Regions from separate parts of the Homo sapiens genome. Here region 1 is linked to region 2. Evidence: promoter capture Hi-C in human tissues and cell types (Jung and others, 2019). All regions are on one chromosome and are shown on one strand. Each heading gives the region's core, a stretch centred on a gene start or on the middle of the fragment in contact. The rest is flanking DNA. Distances are from core to core; before and after follow the strand shown.

Evidence for each region. Contacts are between HindIII fragments. The study calls those that stand out against the background at their distance.
Region 1: a fragment that was not itself captured here is called in contact with the fragment with the promoter of BHMT2 in region 2 in 2 of the 25 tissues and cell types used here (neural progenitor cells and thymus).

What each region holds. Positions count from the first base shown.
Region 1 is chr5:79,174,055-79,179,516 of GRCh38, reverse strand. No RefSeq gene overlaps it. Among named protein-coding and RNA genes, the nearest start is that of JMY, 59 kb to the left of the region's middle. The HindIII fragment of the contact is 8,849 bases long and covers 1-5,462 here.
Region 2 is chr5:79,067,294-79,072,190 of GRCh38, reverse strand. It overlaps BHMT2 (betaine--homocysteine S-methyltransferase 2), which reads right to left and starts at 2,424. Exons shown (of 8, transcript NM_017614.5): 1 at 2,376-2,424. The coding sequence starts at 2,408. DMGDH (dimethylglycine dehydrogenase) reads left to right here and starts at 2,517. Exons shown (of 16, transcript NM_013391.3): 1 at 2,517-2,671. The coding sequence starts at 2,571. The HindIII fragment of the contact is 19,729 bases long and covers 1-4,897 here.

The sequences.
Region 1 (5,462 bases), core at 386-2,885, 110 kb before region 2:
CCAGACAGGAGTGCAGTGGCATGATCACGGTTCCCTGCAGTTTCAACCTCCTATTATATATATATATAATTATTATATATGAATATAAATATATAAATGTATATAAAATAATATACACATATATACACATATATACAATAAACATACATATATATAAAACTTGTCCAAGTGAGCCACTGCACCAGCCTATATGTATGTTTTTATATATATAATATATAGTATATATACTTAGTATATATACTAGTATATATACTTAGTATATATACTAATATATATACTATATATAATATATATTATATAATATAATACTATATATAATATATAGTATTATATAATATAATACTATATATAATATATAGTATTATATAATAAATATACTATATTATATATAGTATATATATTATATAATACTATAATACATATTATATATAGTATTATATACTATAATACTATATTATATATAGTATATTATATATAATATATAGTGTATATAGTGTATATATAATGTATATAGTATATATACACCATATATTATATATAATATATAATATATGGTGTATATATTATATATAATATACAATATATTTAATATATTATATATAATATACAATATATTTAATATAATATATAATATATGTAATATAATATATAATATATGTAATATATAATATATATGTGATATATAATATATGTAATATATAATATATGTGATATATTATATAATATATGTGATATATATGTGATATATAATATATGTGATATATATGTGATATATTATATAATATATGTGATATATATGTGATATATTATATAATATATGTGATATATTATATAATATATAATATATGTAATATATATTATATATTGTGTGTGTGTGTGTGTGTGTGTGTGTGTGTGTGTATACATTTTTTTTTTTTTTTTGAGACAGAGTCTTGCTCTGTTGCCCAGGCTGGAGTGCAGTGGCATGATCTCGGCTCACTGCAACCTCCACCTGCCGGCTTTCAAGCGATTCTCCTGCCTCAGCCTCCTAAGTAGCTGGGATTACAGGTGCACGCCAACACACCTGGCTAATTTTTTAGTATTTTTAGCAGAGATGGGGTTTCACCATGTTGGCCAGGCTGGTCTCAAACTCCTGACCTCATGATCCGCCCACCTCAGCCTCCCAAAGTGCTGGGATTATAGGCTTGAGCCACCGTGCCTGGCCTTATATATATATTTTTAAATTTTAACTTTAATTTTAATTTTTTTTTTTTTTTTTAGAGACAGTGTCTTGCTCTGTTGCCCAGGCTGGAGTACAGTAGTGCCACCACAGCTCACTGCTGCCTCAAACTTTTGGGCTCAAGTGATCCTCCTGCCTCATTCTCTCAAGTAGCTAGGACTACAGGTGTGGGGTACCACACTCAGCTTATTTTTGTGCTTTTTTTGGTAGAGATAGGGTCTCGCTGTGTTGCCCAGGTCTTGAACTTCTGGCCTCAAGCAGTCCTCCTGCCTTGGCCTCCCAAAATGCTGGGATTACATATGTGAGCCATTGTGCCTGGCCTTTTATTTAATATTATATCATAAATTTCTTTCCGTGATTTTATGTATCATAATGATTAATTAACTATATAATTTCTTTTTATGTTTATTATAATTTACGTCACTATACCCCTAATATTTATCTCTAATATAGTTTGGGGAAATTCAGCTGGTAATGCTATAAGAAAAATTTGGGAATATGTAGCTTACTCATTTTGTTAAATTATTTCTGGAGGATAGCTTTTCATAAGAAATATTATTGAATCTAAGACTTTGAGAGTGGGATATGGAGATGTGTGTGACTGCAGTCCCAGCTACTTGGGCGACTGAGGCAGGACGATTGCTTGAGCCCAAGAGCTCGAGGCTGTAGTGTGCAATGATTGTGCCTGTGAACAGCTGTTGCAGTCCAGTCAAGCCTAGGCAACACAGCAAGACTCAGTCTCAAAAAAAATGCTTTGAACAATTTTATGATTGTTGATATATTTTGCAATATTGTTTTCCAAACATACCTGTACCATCTCTAGATTAATGCGAGATTGTTTTGTTTCACGGGAGGACAAACACTGGAAAGAGTTCCTGGAATTGAATCTGTTTAAAAATAGACTAAAGCCAGGCCTGGTGGCCTGTGCCTGTAATCTCAGCTACTGGGAGGCTTTGAAGCCGGAGGATCACTTGAGCTCAGGAGTTTAAGACCGGCCTGGGCAATATAGTGAGACCCTGTCTGAAAAAAAAGAAGAAAAAAAAAAGAAAATAGACTAATGTGCAAAGCTAAATAAAATAGCAAATGCACAATAAATAGCAAACACTTTGAGTAATAAACTGATTTCAGATGTGATCTAACAAGGATAATTGAAAATCCCATCCTCAAGTTGCCTAACCTTTTTACTAAACCTCAATCTTTTTATCTGTAAAATGGGAGTAATAATAGGCCAGGTATGGTGGCTCACGCCTGTAATCCCAGCACTTTGGGAGGCCAAGGCGGGCGGATCACCTGAGGTCAGGAGTTCAAGACCAGCCTGGTCAACGTGGTGAAACCCCATCTCCACTAAAAATACAAAAATTAGCCAGGCGTACTGGTGCATGCCTTTAGTCCCAGTTACTCTGGAGGCTGAGGCAGGAGAACCACTTGAACCCTGGAGGCAGGGGTTGCAGTGAGCTGAGATCGCGCCACTGCACTCCAGTCTGGGTGACAGAGCAAGACTCCGTCTCAAATAATAATAATCATACTAACAATGAGCAGCACAACAACATTTTTACAGTTTTTATCATATGCTAGGCACTGTTCTAAACACTTTACATACACTGGCATTTAATTTTCATAATCCTACTAGGTAGACCTTATTATTATGTTTATCCCTATTTTGTATTGTTGAGGAACTGAGGCATAGACAGGTTAAATGACTTGTCCAATGATTACAGCTAATAAATGGCAGAGTTGGAATTCTAACTCAGACAATCTGGTTCCAGAGTTTATGCTCATAATCACTAAATAAATAAGATAGTTCATATAAAAACACCCAGTCCAATACTTAGCATATAGTAAGTATTCAATAAATGCTTGCTATTATTATTATAATGTATTTTTTAAAAACCCAACTAAACTAGTAAAGGGAGTGGCAGAATTGATTTAAAAGCTCTACAAAACAGAGTCAATGAGTGCAAGTTTCAGCAAAGTAAATTTTGGCTCAGTGGCGGTAGTTTGCATTGGGATGCTGGATATAAACAAGGAGAGGCTGAATAACCACTTGTCAAGAACTTTGTAGAATAGATTTCTTCATCAAGTGGGTAGCTGAACTGGATGACCTCTAAGGCACTTTCCAACTTTGTATAGAGTTCTGTGATTCTAGGCCAGAATCTTTTCTTTTTCCATACAGTAAAGCTTCATTTTTTTTTTTTTAACACTAGGTTTGGTTTACCAACTTTGTTGATGTTATTGTCATTTTAATTGTCTGAATCATTTGCCAAGGAGATTGTGTCTTTGTAGCATGCGTTAAGTCTTTGGCAGTCTCTCCTGTTGTAATATTTGATGTGTTACAACACCTGAACATTATAATGATAGGTTCTGGGGAAACTGACATGTAAACATGTAAGTAACTATGCAGTGGTGGTCAGCCGTCCCAGGCAGGGTTCTTCAGGATTACTGTCACTTGGCTGAATATCATTTGGAGTCTGTCGTCTTTATCCAGATAACTTGTAGGCCCATGAAATAATCATGGGGGGCTTAAAATTAACATTAAAAATTATGGGATTATGATTGTGGATGAGAGTTCATGTCACATTTATAACAACATTGTTCGCAAGTGACTCAGGGAAATTTCGGTGAGTTTCCTGCTGGGAAGGGGAATTGCTCCCTTGATGGAAGTAATAGTTTTGCTCAAGTCATGGGAAGCTCCTCTTGATCCCATAATTTGTCTTCCCTTTGGATTTTAGTCTAGGCAATTATTTGTCTTTACCATTACATCTTGAGCAGTCCTTCAGGATAATGCACAATTTTACCATCAACTTTATGTCATTTCTCCAAGAGGGGTGATTTAAAGGGCACAGCTAATTCTGTTACAAAAATGTTGATGATGGAATCTAGATCAAATGTACCAGACTGACTCAGAGTAGGTGCTAGAAAACAGTTTCTTCTTGGCTATGTTTTTGTCTTTGGTCTAATGTTTTACAGTGTGTGCGTGTGCGTGTGTGTGTGTGTGGTTGTTTTTTTTGTTTTTTTTTTTGAGACAGAGTTTTGCTCTTGTTGCCCAGGCTGGAGTGCAATGGCACGATCTCCGCTCACCGCAACCTCCGCCTCCCAGGTTCAAGAGATTCTCCTGTCTCAGCCTCCCTAGTAGCTGGGATTACAGGCATGTGCCACCACACCCGGCTAATTTTGTATTTTTAGTAGAGACGGGGTTTCTCCATGTTGGTCAGGATGGTCTCGAACACCCAACCTCAGTTGATCCCCCTGCCTCGACCTCCCAAAGTGCTGGGATTACAGGCATGAGCCACTGTGCCTGGCTACAGTGTTCTTAATGTAACTAAACCAATGTAACTAAACACTGGTTTTGTTACTATGGAGACAGATTAAAATAGACATGGAGCTTTAGGTATCAAACTGTCAATAAATTTACTATGTAAAAAATGGAAAGTAGAATCAGAAGGAAGGCCAGACAAAGGTTTTCAAAGCAATGTTAGGAGATTTAATCTATAATATAGTAGGAAATGAGAAGGCCAGGGAGCAGAGAGACCTTTAGACATTGGATCCTCAAAAATCTTAAGATAAGAAGTTTGAAATGATTATTTTTGAATCACTATCACTGAGACACGTAATCTGCCTTATAAGGAAAATAATCTCTTTTTCTTTGGTGAGATTTGATTATTTTCAACATTAGTAATAATTATCCTAAAACAACAGTTGTTACATGCTGACTTTTCATTAATAATGGTACTTTTCAATTTATGTATCCATGCATATACACTGTGGTTTGTTTTGTTTTTTTTTTGTTTTTTTTTTTTTGAGACAGAGTCTAGCTCTGTCACCCAGGCTGGAGTGCAGTGTTGCGATCCTGGTTCACTGCAACCCCCTGGTCTCCTGGGTTGAAGCGATTCTCCTGCCTCAGCCTCCCGTGTAGCTGGGATTACAGGCACCCACCACCACACCTGGCTAATTTTTGTGTTTTTAGTAGAGACGATGTTTCGCCATGTTGGCCAGGCTGGTCTTGAATTCCTGACCTCAAGTGATCTGCCCACCTCGGCCTCCCAAAGTGCTGGGATTACAGGCATGAGCCACTGAGCCCAGCCTCCTGGGTTTAACTTAGAAACATTGTCACTCAAATTTTAAAAATGAACAAATGCCATTTAATTTTGAGGAAACAAAAATTGGCTTTGTAAACTGACCAACTAATAAACAATTATGAGCATACATTTGGAGCATTTTGCTTTTGGGAACTTCAAAGAAGGTG
Region 2 (4,897 bases), core at 1,175-3,674:
GGTTCAAGCAATTCTCCTGCCTCAGCCTCGCAAGTAGCTGGGATTATAGGTGCATGCCACCATGCCCAGCTAATTTTGTATTTTTTAGTAGAGACAGGGTTTCACCATGTTGTCCAGTGTGGTCTCGAACTCCTGACCTTAGATGATCTGCCTGCCTCGGCCTCCCAAAGTGCTAGGATTACAGGTGTGAGCCACTGTGCCCGGCCAATTTGCCATTTTTCTACATAGCCATTAGCAAAATAACTAAGTTATCAAGATTTGAGATCAGAGCATCTTTTAGCCCTTCCTTCACTGCTATTCTAACTACCTCAATTAATTACTATACCAGTATGATCCCTTCTTTAGTTTTTTTTTTTTTTTTTTTTTTTACTTTTAAGTTCAGGGGTACATGTGCAGGATGTGCAGGTTTGTTACACAGGTAAATGTGCATCATTGGAGGTTTGCTATATGGGTTATTTCCTCACCCAGGTATTAAGCCTAGTATCCATTAGTTATTTTTCCTGATCCTCTCCCTCCTTCCACCCTCCACCCTTCGATAGGCCCCAGTGTGTGTTGTTCCTCACCATTATACTAGTACGATCTAAAGTCAACTGTAAAATTATAAAGACAGGAACATGTAAAATAAGGAACCCTGTAAATTAATTTTGCAGTACATTTATATTTTCATTCCCTCCTCCCCATCAGTTTGGCAGTGAACCTGCCTTGCATCTGACAGCGAGCTCTAGGGTGCATTTATGCCCCCTTTTTGCAGATATCACTACGTAAGACCTCTGGGTTTAAGATCTGGCTTCAAGACATCTCTATTCATACTCAGTGGGGATCAACTTCACTGTGTAGTAGGAGGTGATCAGAAAAACCCAGTCTGTCTAAAATAACTTCCCCTTTTCCTAGATTTGCCAGCAGAACTGCTCTTTTGGATTTAAGACCTAATTGGAGGTCTTGTCTGTGGCAATTAAATGAATTCTTAAAATGTACCTGCTAGCTGAGGAGAGAGGTGAGATTAGTTCCTTCCCATTAACACCTTAACTCCCAGGTACACATTCACATGGATTAGTGTGTGATAATCTTGGTGTTGTAACAGTAGAGGCCCCAAAGACACTGAACAAAAACAGGGCATTTTAAAAACGTTTAAAAATATGAACTGTAAAGATGAACATAGCATTAGAGAAAGTTGAGAGAAAAAAGCACAATGTTCTTTGATTATTTTTATTAACTGTATTCTTTCAATGCTCACATTTTGCTTTTATAACCTGAAAAAATATCCTAAAACATGCTTTTTAAACCAATATTCCACATCTTGTGTAACTATTACCATTATTGTGTCCTTCCTTACAGTGTGTATATAAATATTTGTATATGGTTGGGATCAGTTTGTGATATATTTCCTTTTGCAACTTAACATTGCCAAGGCACTTAGCTGGTTCTCATACTAAGTTATTTAACTGTCTAATAACTTAAGTAGATGAACCTTAATTTATTTAGAATCCCGTATTGCAGAGTATCTTGGTCGTTTCTAACTTTTTAGTATAAATAGCTCGGTGGTGCACATTTCCACGCATAAACTGCCCCTCCTCCCTTCCTCCCATTCTGAATGACAGGGCTGGAGCGGGTGGGGGTCTCTGAAGGGTCCTGGGGATGTCTTTCGTCCAAGCTCATGCCCTTCCTAATTTTGCTTAGTCACTCCTTCATCCCACCCCCACACATACTCGACGTAGAAATGGCTGGGCATAAAGCCAACATCTGGTGACCAGACCAGGAAAGGGGCCAGGAGCTGGGGACCACCGGGTGAGAGGAGGTTGAGGGGTGCTAGCGAATCCCACCTACCCTCCACCCTGCACCGCAGCTCTGGGGGCGTCCTTGCCCAGGACTAGTTTCAGACCAGCCGGCGACTCGCAAGGCCAGGCTGCTTGGCCAGGCTGCTGACTTTTCCAAAACGCGAGGGGACAGTCCGAAGAGTTCCCGGACGGATTAGCCCAAAGAGCTGCGGGCGAGGGTCGGTTGAGGGAAGAAAATGTGTGCGCGACATGCGTCCGAAAGCTAGACTTCTGATCCTCGCTCCCCGCGGGGCTGGACCCGTGACCCTGAGCTAGTCGCCTGACTCGCCGAGCCTCAGTTTCCTCACCTGTGAAATGGGGATAATTGTGAAGATGAGGAGATAACTTGAGCACAGCACTCTGTGCAGCGCCAGGCACCGAGTAAGGGCTCCATAAACGCTAACCAACCCGTGACAGGGGAAAATTGAGGCTCAGGGCCATCCCGTCCAAGTGTTTTGCCGAGGCCCCAGGGCTTGGCTAGGGATGGACGCCGGGTGTGAACGGAGTCGCTCGCAGCCCAGCGGCCAGGAGCTCCGCGAGGATCGAGGGGACGAAACTCACCTTCTTGGCCCCCGGGCGTCCAGCAGGTGCCATGGTGCCGCGGCTCTGTGGGCGCCGGGTTCCCGGGCGCGCGGCCGTCTAGGAGCCCGCCCCCAGCCCGGGGGGAGGATCCGACCCCCGCCCCGCCGGCCCCGCGGCCTCAGGCTGCCCGCTGGCCTCGGAGCAGGCGCCTGCGCCCTCGGCCTCGGCCTAGTCATGCTCCGTCCCGGCGCGCAGCTGCTGCGGGGCCTCCTGCTGCGGAGCTGCCCGCTGCAGGGCTCCCCCGGGCGCCCGCGCTCTGTCTGCGGCCGGGAAGGGTGAGTGGGGCCCCGTCCTGCTCAGAGGCGACGGGGCGGCTGCGGGGGTGGGAGCCAGAGGCTGAGGCAGGCTCAGGGGTTAGGAGCGCTCTGGCCTCCAAGAAATAGGCCTTGATATATCTTCTCGAATTATCTTTTAATTATAAAGTGAAACAGTATCCAAAGGTTCCCCGTGTAAAGTCTCTCCTGCCCCAATCCCCTTGGCCAGTGAACAATTGTTAATAGTGTCTTCTGAATCTAACCAGAGACAGTCTACGCATAGGCAAACACAGGTCAGTATAGGTTTTCCTTTGGCTTTTTGACATCTTGCTTTTTACAATTATCAATATATCTTGGAGATTGTTCCATATCAGCACACACTGACTTGCCTTGTTCCTTTTAATGGCTGCATAGTTTTCCATCCTGTCAATATTCTACACTATCGTTAGTCTATTCATTAACATTTAAATGGTTTTTGGTTGTTTATTACTGCAAATAACGTGCATGTGAAAATTCTTAGGCATCTATCTTTGAGTACATATGGGAGTCGGTAGCAACAGTTTTTAAAGGTGAACTTGTTAGGGAAAAGGTTACGTGCATCTGAAAGATTGAAAGACAGCAACACATTCTCCAAGTGGGTGGCAAGAGTTTGCATGCGGCACACCAGTGTGTGTCTGTTTCCCACATCTTCCCTGGTTCCCAGAATAGCCCATTTTGTTATCTTTGCTAAATCTGATAGGTAAAAATGGCATGTCCTTGTTTTGATTGGTCTGTATTTAAATATGAGCAATGCTGAACATCTTTCGACTTCTTATATTTGTAGATTATTCCTGGTTGCCAGGAAAGGCTTGTTTATCAGCATCACTCAACATTATTATGAGTTGATTCGAATTTTATTTTATGTCCTATGACCTGAAATTCTGGAATCAGAAGACCTGCTTTTGAGTTCCATCTATCCATTCAACAAATATTTACTGGGTGTTGTGATGTGCTAGGTTTGTCTCCAGTACTGGGAATGCAGTAGCCACCAACTCACAGTTCCTGCGCCATCTGTTACACAGAATGTGACCTTACACTTCTGAGGTTCAGTTTCCTCATCTATAAAATGAGGATACTAATTTTGCTCTATATAACTCACAGGATTGCTGTGAATATTAAATAAGAGAATGCATGTGAAAGTGCTTTGTAAATTGTAAAGCAATGCAAAAATATTTATAATAATGATGTTTTTAATCCAGTGCAAAATAAAATGGAAATTTAACAAACAAACTGATTAGATAAATAAGATACAAATTTCAAGACTATCCAAAAAATTCATATTTTGGCTGAGTGTGGTGGCTCATGCCTGTAATCTCAGCACTTTGGGAAGCTGAGGTGGGCAGATTACTTGAGGCCAGGAGTTTGAGACCAGCCTGATCAACATGGTGAAACTCTGTCTCTAATAAAAATGCAAAAATTAACTGGGTGTCATGGTGTGCACCTGTAGTCCAAGCTGCTTGGGAGGCTGAGGCGGGAGAATCGCTTGAACCTGGGAGGCGGAGACTGCAGTGAGAACCGAGATTGCACCACTGCACTCCAGCCTGGGCGACAGGGATTCCATCTCACAAACAAAAACAAAAACACCCAAAAGTTGAGTTATTTCAATTGCATATTCTTTATATACCCAATTTCAAACTATCAAAAAATGTTTTATTTTGGAAAGCAGTTGAACAAGCATACAGTTTGTGCTTATCATTTCTAATACAGAAGATAACTGACCTGGGTTTTTTGCATGGCTCCTAAGTTTTATTTCAAATACTCTTATAAACATCCTCGACTACATTCAGAAGGATTTTAAGATAGTTATCCACATAATCAAAAACACTATACCTAGTCTGAAACCTATTATGGCATGCTGGGCCGAGGAAATACTATATATTTGATAATGCTTTATCATATGTTGCCAAACAGAACCTTCACAGCTCCGTTTTGCAAATGAGAAAACTTTGAGACCCTTGTGTAAATTTCTCTAAAATAGCTGTTCAGTTGGATTGGGGACTCAAACCCAGGTTTCCTGATCTTAAGTTCTCTTTTGTTGTTGTTGTTTCAACTGACCACTGTCCTGAAAGAAATAATTCTTTCTTTTGAACACACAAAAAAGAACCTTTAAGATTATTATTTTTGTCACCACTATAATGGTTTCAACTAAAGTACAAGATATGCCCAGTCTGTTTAAAAATGGATTTCCGTCCAAAGTAGTTGGGTCAT